Linked DNA regions of Homo sapiens: all the other regions are linked to region 1. Evidence: promoter capture Hi-C in 16 types of primary human blood cells and fetal thymus (Javierre and others, 2016). All regions are on one chromosome and are shown on one strand. The core of a region is centred on a gene start or on the middle of the fragment in contact, and the rest is flanking DNA. Distances in the headings are between cores, read along the strand shown.

Evidence for each region. The method cuts DNA at HindIII sites, captures the fragments that hold promoters and counts their contacts. A CHiCAGO score of 5 or more calls a contact.
Region 2: a contact is called between a fragment that was not itself captured here and the fragment with the promoter of HDDC2 in region 1, in 1 of 17 cell types (megakaryocytes). The highest score is 5.1, in megakaryocytes.
Region 3: a contact is called between a fragment that was not itself captured here and the fragment with the promoter of HDDC2 in region 1, in 1 of 17 cell types (erythroblasts). The highest score is 5.1, in erythroblasts.
Region 4: a fragment that was not itself captured here is called in contact with the fragment with the promoter of HDDC2 in region 1 in 2 of 17 cell types (M1 macrophages and M2 macrophages); the score reaches 5.3 in M1 macrophages.

The regions. Positions count from the first base shown.
Region 1 is chr6:125,300,604-125,303,266 of GRCh38, reverse strand. It overlaps HDDC2 (HD domain containing 2), which reads left to right and starts at 1,300. Exons shown (of 6, transcript NM_016063.3): 1 at 1,300-1,418; 2 at 2,608-2,663. The coding sequence starts at 1,335. RefSeq lists a silencer at 1,271-1,610. The HindIII fragment of the contact is 13,888 bases long and covers 1-2,663 here.
Region 2 is chr6:125,531,227-125,533,889 of GRCh38, reverse strand. No RefSeq gene overlaps it. Among named protein-coding and RNA genes, the nearest start is that of LINC02523, 140 kb to the left of the region's middle. RefSeq lists an enhancer at 1-379. The HindIII fragment of the contact is 320 bases long and covers 1,206-1,525 here.
Region 3 is chr6:125,513,837-125,516,499 of GRCh38, reverse strand. No RefSeq gene overlaps it. Among named protein-coding and RNA genes, the nearest start is that of LINC02523, 160 kb to the left of the region's middle. The HindIII fragment of the contact is 1,018 bases long and covers 810-1,827 here.
Region 4 is chr6:125,146,387-125,149,049 of GRCh38, reverse strand. No RefSeq gene overlaps it. Among named protein-coding and RNA genes, the nearest start is that of TPD52L1, 6.1 kb to the left of the region's middle. The HindIII fragment of the contact is 2,850 bases long and covers 1-2,663 here.

The DNA of each region.
Region 1 (2,663 bases), core at 51-2,550:
AGCATCCTCTAGCTGATCTACAATAGACACTTAGCATGAGAGAGAAATAAACCTTTGATGTGTTAAACTGCTGAGATACAGGAAATAAGGAGGTTGTTTGTTATTATAACATCCCAGCCTATACTTTGCTTCCTAATTTGGTGAGAAAATAGAAGCAATCAGAAGAGAACTTCTACAACCTCCCATGACCACATGTGCGACTGATTAGTCACCCTATACTCTGTCCTCCTCCAATATTTGAATGAATTCTCCATATTCCTATCTAAAGCCCATCTTTTATCTTGTACACCAGATGGGAATATTTTTCCTTACTCAAGGCCGACATTCAAATATTTCTCTTCTTTGTCTCTTACATAATCAATGTTTCCCTTTCTACTAGATCCCCTTCATCAGTAAACATACATAATATCTCCTGTTTTGAAACAATCTCTCCACTAGTTAACAGCACCCCAACCCCATCTCCAATGTGCTGTAATACTTGCTCCTATTCTCTTCGGAATTATCTCACTAGGTTCTGCTTGGCCCACTACACTGAAAACTGCTTTTGTCAGGGTAACCAATAATATTGAATTTACTAAGTCTGGAAGTCAAACCTTGGTCCTCACATTGACTTGGTTGACCATATTCCTTCCTTCTTGAAATATTTTTGTACATGGCTTCCAGGACACAACTATCCTACCTACTAATCCTCTTCCTACCTCACTGGCTGTTCCCTCTTGATCTCACAAAGCCTAAATGTTGGGGTTCAGGTCTTGGGTGTCTTTTCTTCTTCATTCACACCCTCTTGCCAGGTGACCTCATCCAGTTTCATGGTTTTACACTGTCAACTGAAGAATAACGAGGTTCATAAATTTAGAAAGGAGAGCTTTATTTTTCATAAAGAGTACTGAGTGTCAAGTATGTGCCAAGCAAGGTGTCTGCCACTGACGGAGCAATGCCCAAGCAGCGGACACCAAGGCCAAGAAGGCGAAGGCTGGACAGAAGGTCCTGAGAAAACCGTGAGAATATGGAGGAGGGGGAGGAGGAATAAGAACAGGAGGAGGAGGGGGAGGAGGAATAAGAACAGGAGGAGGAGGAAGAGGAGGGGGAGAGAGGAAGAGGGGCAGGAGGAAGAGGAAGAGGAGAAAGCGGAAGTGGGGGAGGAGGAGGAGGAGTTGGAAGGGGAGGAGGAAGAGGGGGAGCAGGAAGAGGGGCAGAAGGAAGAAGAAGAGGGGGAGGAGAAAGAGATAGAAGAGTAAGAGGAGGGGGAAGAAAGACAAGGGGAAGGGGAGGAGGAGGAGGACGGGGAGGAGCTTCGCCGCGGCCTGCTCCGCCCAGCCGGGGTCGGTGGCCGCATGGCTTCGGTCTCCTCTGCGACCTTCTCGGGCCACGGGGCTCGGTCCCTACTGCAGTTCCTGCGGCTGGTAGGGCAGCTCAAGGTGAGCGGGCACCAGGCCGGGAGGCCGCGGCCGAGCGGGCGGGACTGTGGGGCGGCGGAGCTTCCGGCCTCCCCGCTCGGCCGGCGGTCTTTGCCCTTCCTGCGCCGCGTCCGCCACGCCGAATTCCGGAAAGGCCCCAGTCCTGCGGATGCGGCCGCGCGTTGCCGACGGTGGACGGAGGAAGCAGCCGGCGGGACAGGCTGGCCAGCTGGGGCGGCCCGGAGTCTGAGCCTAGAGCCTGGCGCCGCGAGGTCCGCACTGCAGCCGCGCCAGTTCCCGGAGAGCAGCCGGCCTGGCCCTGCCTGCACTGAGCTTTTCCGGGGCTCACGACCCCAGAACTCGTGTGTGTGTGTGTGTGTGTGTGTGCTCACGACCCCAGAACTCGTGTGTGTGTGTGTGTGTGTGTAAAGCGCGGCTGCTTCTGAGCACGGGTGGGAAGAACAGAATCTGTCGGCTCCTCAGATTTTAAGTGGAGCTTTTTATGTCTGTCTCACAGTTACTTCCAGAAACAAGACTTTTCTCCCGGCCACCCCCCAAACGGGATTTAATGTAATACACACGAGTTTCATCATGTGCGTCTTCCCCGTCTCTCTCCCAAGTTCAAAGTAAATTATCCGTTTCATGCCACTCTGACTACTATTTATAACATTCCTTAGAGATGTAGAATTCTGAGGAAGAAATGCAGTTTCACAAGATGAAGTTATGATGTGAATAAAAGGAAGAGTCACGGCTGGTAGCATCAAGCAATTAGAAGTGCCCTTATCCCTTGTGCCTCAGAATTTGGAAGCCTATCACTCGTTCACGTTCAGACCCTTCAATACAGTGTTTTCTGCTTGTGTAGGATTATTTGAAGGCAAAAAGCCGCAACTCTTGTTCGGAAAAATGCAGTTTTGTTTTTGTTTAAAGGACTTGCATATGTTCCATAATTATACATCAGTAACAGAATAATTTGACGAATGGACTTTGTGACTTATCTCTCTCTGTCTTCTACCCCTTTCATTCTCTGAGCTCTCTAGTTCATTTGATTCCAGATGTCTATCATTTTAGCTAGTTTAGCAAAACATTTTGTAATAGGTTCTGAAATTATGACCCGGCTTCTGTGTGTTATATCCTGGACATCTCTTGAAGAGCATAGCAGATAGTTAATATTTGTTCTTTAAAACTTCTTTTTCTTCTTCATATTTATCAGAGAGTCCCACGAACTGGCTGGGTATACAGAAATGTCCAGAGGCCGGAGAGCGTTTC
Region 2 (2,663 bases), core at 116-2,615, 230 kb before region 1:
GAACCGACTGTACCCCTGGGTTTGGAGTCTCTGGGAAGGCCTCCCTGCGCCCCTCCACGTGGGAGTCAGGAGCAAGCTGCCTGCCCCTTTCTGCCTCCCCAAACAACACCGCACGGCATATACCCGAGGAGTGCGTGGCTCCTGCCCTGGGATTGGGACTCATCTGGAATTACCTACAGTAGAGTCATTAGAAACTCTTCTAGCCCGCTTCCTGTTTGGGGGTAGCATATTAGGAGCAGGACCACTGTCGGGAGATTCCTGCCATCTCTAATGTTCCTCTGTGGATCCCCCCACGCCCACCCCAGTGGAAGTGATTAAGACTAGCTCTGGAGGTGGCCTGGGGCAGGGGTGGTGGCTGAACTGCCCTCTGATCTCTACTGCCCTCCCCCATTAAGCAACCACCAATAAAAATAACGTATGTTTTGTATGCAGTGTGTGTGTGTGACTACTGCTGTTTTTTAAATGTAGTATTTACAAAAGCATCTTTTTCAAAAGGTGGATGGAGACTTAAAGATGGTACTCTCAGAGTGAAAGGAAGGGAGGATGTGGTTAAGAACAGAGTTACTCCCTTATAGAGGGTTTCACTTTATGGGAAATCTCCCCTGGAGCTTTGAAAAAGTCATGTTTAACACATAGTTTGACGTTTTTTGTGTGGTGAGGTTATGGAGAGAGTAAAAGATGGGGCTGCAGATGGAGACAAGGCTTGCCTCACACTCCTCCATCCTCCCTATGGGCTCTTGAAGAGGAAGCAGAATTTTACAGGGTATCTTGGGTCAACAGCAGCCAGGTATGATGTGGCCCGTGGCTCACAGTGGAGCAGGAAGGAACCCTCAGCTCAAAGAACAGTGGTCAACTGGATGACCTGAAAGCAGATGGGAGACAGAGAGAAGTGATCCTAGGGTCAAGGGAAATAACTGCCATTGGAGTAATAAATTAATTGTGTGATTAGTTGTTTAATGTATGTCCCTCTCATTAAATTAGAAATTCCATGTGGACAAGGATTATATATAGAGTTACATTCAATACATAGTTTTTAAATGGGTAACTAAATACATTGATAGCACTATTGATTTTTTAAAATAGTTTCTTATTTACCTATTCAATATATATTTTTTAAGAAATGCACATAACACATTGATTCTCCTCTCCAGGCTAAGCATTGGACAGGCACTAAGAATAATTAGAGCAAATAAATAAATAAAGCTTCCTCATTAGGATATTCTTCTCTGCTATAGTTCCCCAAACTTATGGAGCTTGCTTGTAGAATTCAGCCCTGCAAAAAGTTATTTTCATACAGTGTACTGAAAACAGCCCTGAATATGCTACTCACATTAACTGGACTTACTGATGACTTCCCTATTTCCCCCAGTTAAAATGGTCTCTTTCCTTTATTCTTACAAAGGAAATTTAGGAGTCTTAGAGACTTTAGCTCATTTATCTCTCAAATTCCCAGAGCACTTACAACAATGCCCAGTTTGGTTGAATTAAAGTAGATTTCTAAAGTTAGAACCCATCTTTAGAAGCTTGAAGAGGAAAGGAGCCTAGAATTGATAGTAAACCATTTTCTAAATGTTCTGGAAGGTAGTATAGCTGATTATCTCTTAGTCTTGGGCAAAGACTTGTAGGGCGTGGCTTTGGAAACTAGAAGGAAACTTGAAAACAAGTTATAAATATTCCTCATTTTATAGATAAGAATAGAAGACAGTAGGGTTTAGCTTCTATTTTTAGCTCTGCTACTCCATGTTTGGTTATTCTTAGACAATTTCACCCATCTTCTTAGTTTTATCATATCTGCCCTAACTGCAACACAGGATTTTAAAGAGATTATAGATATGAAAGTACTCAAGAGAAGTTTAAAGTGCCATATAAATGTAATGCCTCTGGACAACTAGGTGGGTGATGATTCAGTTTTCTAGTACCCAGAAGTGGCTTCAGAGAAAGCAAATCCTGACTATTCCTTCAAATGAGGTAATATAGGTAAAGCTCTAAGCACAGCTCCAGGCTCATAGGAGTATTTAATAAATATTTGCTATTTTTTCTTTCCTATCCTGGTAAATACAATCATTTTTTAACAGCACAAGGACCCATTGCACTTGAAAAATAAACCTGTCTTGATTTATACTGAAAATGTGAGATGTGTATGGGATATTGTTACCTTCACTAATACAACAAGCTAAAAGACAATATTTTCGGGTTGAAGGAATAAAACCCATGCATCAAGACCTGGAACTAATCCCAGGGAGCAAATTGCATATGTTTTATCCTCAGTATGTTCTTATCTTTCTTTAGGTACATTACTTACCTAAAGTACCTTGGGTTAAAACTTTGTTTTTAAGGATCAGATTTAAAATAACACTCTATGACCCTAGTGGTTTTGGTTTAAAAATTATGACACATATTTACACCATCTACCTACAAGTTCAGGATTTGGCGGCAGGGGAGTAGAGATGATTATGATACTTCCTACTTATTCATAACATTTAAATAACTAGAACACAAAGATGAGGTACCTTTTGCCTAAATAGTTGAAGCTTCAAAGAACAAATTCTTTATTTTTAAAAAAATTCATTTTAGGAAGAGGTTTGTCTCAGTTCTTTATCTAACAGCAGAAGCTGCTGAATGGAAATATATCATCTCAGTCCTCCCTAGGTGGGAACATGCAA
Region 3 (2,663 bases), core at 69-2,568, 210 kb before region 1:
CATGTTGTGATGCATGCCTGTAAACTCAGCTACTTGAGAAGCTGAGGTGGAAGGATTTCTTGAGCCTAGGATTTCGAGAGAAGCCTGGGCAATATAGTGATACCACATCTAAAAAGTAAACAACCAAGCAGACAAAAAAAAAGGGAGGGCCTGAAAAAATAGTCAAAGAAAAAATGATTGAAAACTACCCAAATTTGGTGAAAGCTACAAACCAATAGATAATAAACTCAGCAAAACTCAAGCATAATAAATCAAAATAAATCCACACCCAGATGACACATAATAATCAGATTTTTGAAAACTAAAAGCAAAGACAAAATCTTGAAAGTAGCCAGAGAAAATAATACATCAGTTTTAGGAGATCAATGATTTGAATCACTGTGGGTTTCTCCTCAGAAATTACAGAAGCCAGAAGAAAGTGGCACAACATTTTTCAAGTAATTTTTCTTTACAAAAACAGTTGTCAAGTCAGAATTCTATATCTAACAAAAATTTCTCTCTAGTTTGGGAAAACTTTAAGCAGGGAATGAAACTAGAGGTCTGAGAAATAAAGAAGTATCCCAGGGGTCAGTGTGGAGATTGGTGTACTGAAGTGAACAAGGAGGTACTAGGAAATAGAGACATTTTTAGATGAAGAAAACTAAGAGAATGTGTCAAAGAAAATTCTTCAGACATAAAGAAAATAATATAGAAAAAACTTGGAACATCAGAAATAAAAAAATAGAAAAAGTAATACATAAAGAAATATAATTGACCATTATTGATTTTTAGATGAAGGCAAGTAAAGAGATTTAAATGATGATAAAGCTTTTGCATTCTACTTGGAATGGTAAAATATTGATAATAATAGACAGTAATAAGTATGAATATTTTAAACTACATGAAGTGAGAAATAAAATCATTATAGAGAAATTAAAATTGAATTCTAAAAAAGTTTATATAACTCACAGGAAGGTCCAAAAAAGAAGACAGAGAAACAAAAAGCAGTGGAAACAAACAGAAAACAAATAATAAAACAGCATACCTGAATTCTAAAAAACTAACAAGTACTTCTTTTTTTTTTTTTTTTTTTTTTTGAGACAAAGTCTTCCTCTTGTCCCCCAGGCTGGAGTTCAATGGCATGATCTCAGCTCACTGCAACCTCCACCTCCCGGGTTCAAGCGATTCTCTTGCCTCAGCCTCCCGAGTAGCTGGGATTACAGGTGCCTGCCACCATGCCCAGCTAATTTTTGTATTTTTTGTAGAGACAGGGTTTCACCATGTTGGCCAGGCTGGTCTCAAATTCCTGACCTCAGGTGATCCACCCGCTTCAGCCTCCTAAAGTGCTGGGATTACAGGTGTGAGCCACTGTGCCCGGCCTCAGTTACTTTTAAAGTAAGTGGTCTACACATACTAATTAAAAGACAAAGATTGACAAAATGGATTTTAAAATCCAACTTCATGCTGCCTACAAGAGGCTTACTTCAACTCTAGGTATGTTATAGGTAATTTAAAAGTACAGGAAAATTGTACAAACATTAATCAAAAGAAATTTGGTATGTCCATATTAATATCAGACAAAGTAGACTTCACAGCAAAGAAAATTATCAAGGACAAAGAGAGACACTACAAAATGATAAAAAGAGTTAATTAACCAAAGAACACATACCAGCCCTAAACATGCATGCACCAAGCAACAGAATTTCAAAATACATGAAGCAAAAAGGGACATAACTGAAAGGAGAAATAGGAAAACCCTCACTTATATCTGGGGGCTTCTCTCAGTAATTAATAAATTACTAGACAGAAGATCTGCACAAAATCTGAACACAAATGTTCATAGAAGCTTTATTTGTAAGAGTAAGAAACTAGAAACAAATATCTTTCCACAGGTGGATGTATAAACAAATTATGGTACATCTGTACAATGGAATACTACTCAGTGATGAAAAGAAATAAGCTGTTGATATATGCAACAACTTGATGGGTATTATGCTGCATGACAAAAAAAATCTTTAAATATTATATAATGTATAGTTCCATTTATATAACATTCTCGAAAGGACTAAATTATACTTATGCACAACAGATCAGTGCTTGCCAAGTTTAGAGTTTGGGGGAAGGCATAATTATAAATGGGTGATAAACAGTTCTGTATCTTGATTACAATTATTGTTACAGAAATCTGCATATGTGATAAAATGTCATAGAACTAAACACCAAAGAAAGTACACATTAAAACTGGTAAAATCCAAATAAAGTCTGTAGTTTAGTTAATAGTATTGTACTGACTTCAATTTTCTAGCTTAGATCATTGCTCTATGGTTATGTAAGATGTTATTATTGGGGGAAACTGGATGAAGGGTACATGAAACTCCCTGTGCTATTTTTTTCAACAACTATATTAGCTTTAAATTATTTCCAAAATAAAATCAACTGAATTTTTAATTTGATTGAATATTCAGTCATTGAAATAGCTACATGTGGCCTATGACTTCAGTATTGGACAGAGCAGGTCTATATTAAGTTCTGCCAAATAACTTTACATTTTTCTTTGTTTTTACTCTTACGTTCTTGTAGAAAAGTTTCACATATGAAAATTTTATTTAACACATAATATGTAATCCATATTGTTTAGATGTCTCTGATGGAGGTATAATGCTTTATCAAATCAGAGCAGCACA
Region 4 (2,663 bases), core at 77-2,576, 150 kb after region 1:
AAAATACCTTACTTAATGTATTTTGTTGCTTTAACATTAACATTGGTGTTGACATTAACATTAACATGAGACAGTCATGTTTTCAGACAAGACTAGAAACTCACAGTCCTGTCCCAAGGCTTGCCTGGTCATGCGATTAGAAAGCATGACAAGGAGTAAGAAATATCAACTCAGGTCTCTACCGATAGCACTATAACTCATATAAGAACGAAGTTTGTTTAGAAAGTTGATCATTCTATAGGGGTGAAATGCAGTAGAAATCTCAACTGTCCAAAGGAAATGTGTATTCAACAGTTTTTACTTACACCAGTTCCCGGTCACTTGTAATGTATGGGTCTGAAGGCATCGTGGGAGGTGGACAGGGCACAGAAATGAGAGGAAGGAGTAGAAAGGACAGGTGAAGTGTGCTGCTCTGGCCTATGAACTTTACAAATACATTGAAAGAGAACATGAGCTTTGGGGCTCCATTAGATTCCCACTCTGAAAACTACCAGCTGTATCACCTAAAGGAATTGTCTCAGTCTCTCTGTGCCTGGCTTTCTGCATTTGTGTCACGATGCTATATGAGGTATTAATGGGCATGTTCTTTCCCTCCTATCCCACTGGGCACCTGTGCTTTTAAAGCAGTGGTTCCCAGTCATCTTCTACATCAGCACCACATGAGTGGCTTTTAAACATTTCTGATACCTGGGTTCTACCCCACAAGTATTCTGATTTGTCTTTTTAAATCTCTCTCGGTGATACTGATGTGCTTCCAAGATTGACAATGACCATTTCAGAAACTGTCCACAACAAAGATGAAAGGTTCTATAGTCTCAGCTTTTAAATTAAAACGTTGTCACCCAAGTAAACAGAAAATAATGAAAAAGAAATATGAGCAGGCAGCACAAGAATTTTTACCCCTAATTCCAGGGGAGTTGGAGAGGAAAAAAACATTGGGGAGGGCAGAGAAGTATGAAAGATTTAGACATGGCTCTGTCTACAGATTTCACCCTTCTTCTCCTTACTCCCATGAGAGCAAAGAGAACCTGGCCTCGACAATTGCATTGAGAACTCTGATGGCCAGATAGTTTTGAGAAACCTTAGGGATAGAACAAGTGCTCTTTGTCACTTTGAATTTTTCACCCTCTCAAGTGGTGTAGGAAGCCAGAGAGGAGTTTCCTTGAAGCCCCAGGTAGGGGGTGGAAGTTAGTGAGGAGAGAGAACTAGCTAGTAAGCCAATATCCCCAGGAGGCTGGAGAAAGGCAGCTTCCATTTCCTGAAGCCACATGAAGAAAAGGGTGCAACAGAATCTTTCATGAGGGTAGGAGGGGCTGCACAAAGGGAGAGGCATTCAGAACTCAGCCTAGCTGGAGGACTTACTGACCTCACCCCACATCATACTACTAAGCTGGGCAAAAGGAATGAGGAGAGATAGTTTGATTGCTCAGAAAGGGGACCAGCACCACCTTTTTTCCACCTCTACCAACTTCCCAGTTCTCAGGAAACATGGAAATTGGAGTCTACCCACCAGAGAGTTGGCTTTGGAGGAGGCCAGGGGAGATTAGTTGGCTGAATACTAGCTAGGACCACTGAAGCCGAAAGCTAGAGGTGAAGTGGACATCAGAGAGGTGCAGCACAAGGCCTGGCTAGGTTCCACCAGGGCCTGCAGGAGCTGCTGGTGAGTGAACACACTGTCAACCTCATCCATCTGGATATGGGGTCATTTGGGTTTTCTTTTCCCCTTCCTCTCAATTCCCATCCCACACACTTAGTCAAGAGGAGCTGGTTCCCAGAAGTGACAGGGTCCATAGACACCCAAAAACTAACTTTTGCATCATAACCTTCCAACACACACACACACACACACACACACACACACACACACACACACATGTTCCAAGCAGTGCTGAGAGAAGAAAGGAAAAGAGATTGTTGAGGCTCAGAACACTATACACCAAAGTATGGCACATTGGCATGCCAAATACTAGGTCCCTTTCCTTCACTTCAAAGCATTCAAATACATTCCTCTAACCTTGCCCCACCTTTCTGTGTAGGAGCTGGCCATAAATTATTTGGCCTACCTTGACTGATAGTAGGTCACAAGACCCTCATTCTAGAGTGGTTCTGCCCCACACCCTGGAGGGAGGAGCACCACACCAAGAGGCCAAGAAGCATCCAACAGCCAAGCCTTGCTTGGTGTGTTAGGATGTTCTTGCATTGCTTTAAATACTTGGGACTGGGTAGTTTATTTTAAAAAGAAGTTTAATTGACTCTCAGTCCTGCAGACTGTACAGGAAGCATGTCTTCAGCATCTGCTTGGCTTCCGAGGAGGTCACAGGGAGCTTTTACTCACAGTAGAAGGTGAAGCAGGAGTCGGCATATCACATGGCAAGAGAGGGGCAAGAGAGAGAGAGTAGGAGGTGCCCCACACTTTTAAATGACCAAATCTTCCGCGAACTCACTTATCAGAAAGGGGATGGTGCTAATCCATTCATGAGGGAGCCGCTTCCGTGAGCCAAGGACCTCGCATTGCACCCTACCTCCAACACTGGGTATTACATTTCAACATGAGGTTTGGTGGGAACACAGATCCAAACCGTATCACTGGGTTTCCCCTCTCAACCTATGACCATTAGATCATACCCCTTCTGTTCAATCACATTTCCTCATGGCTGTCCATT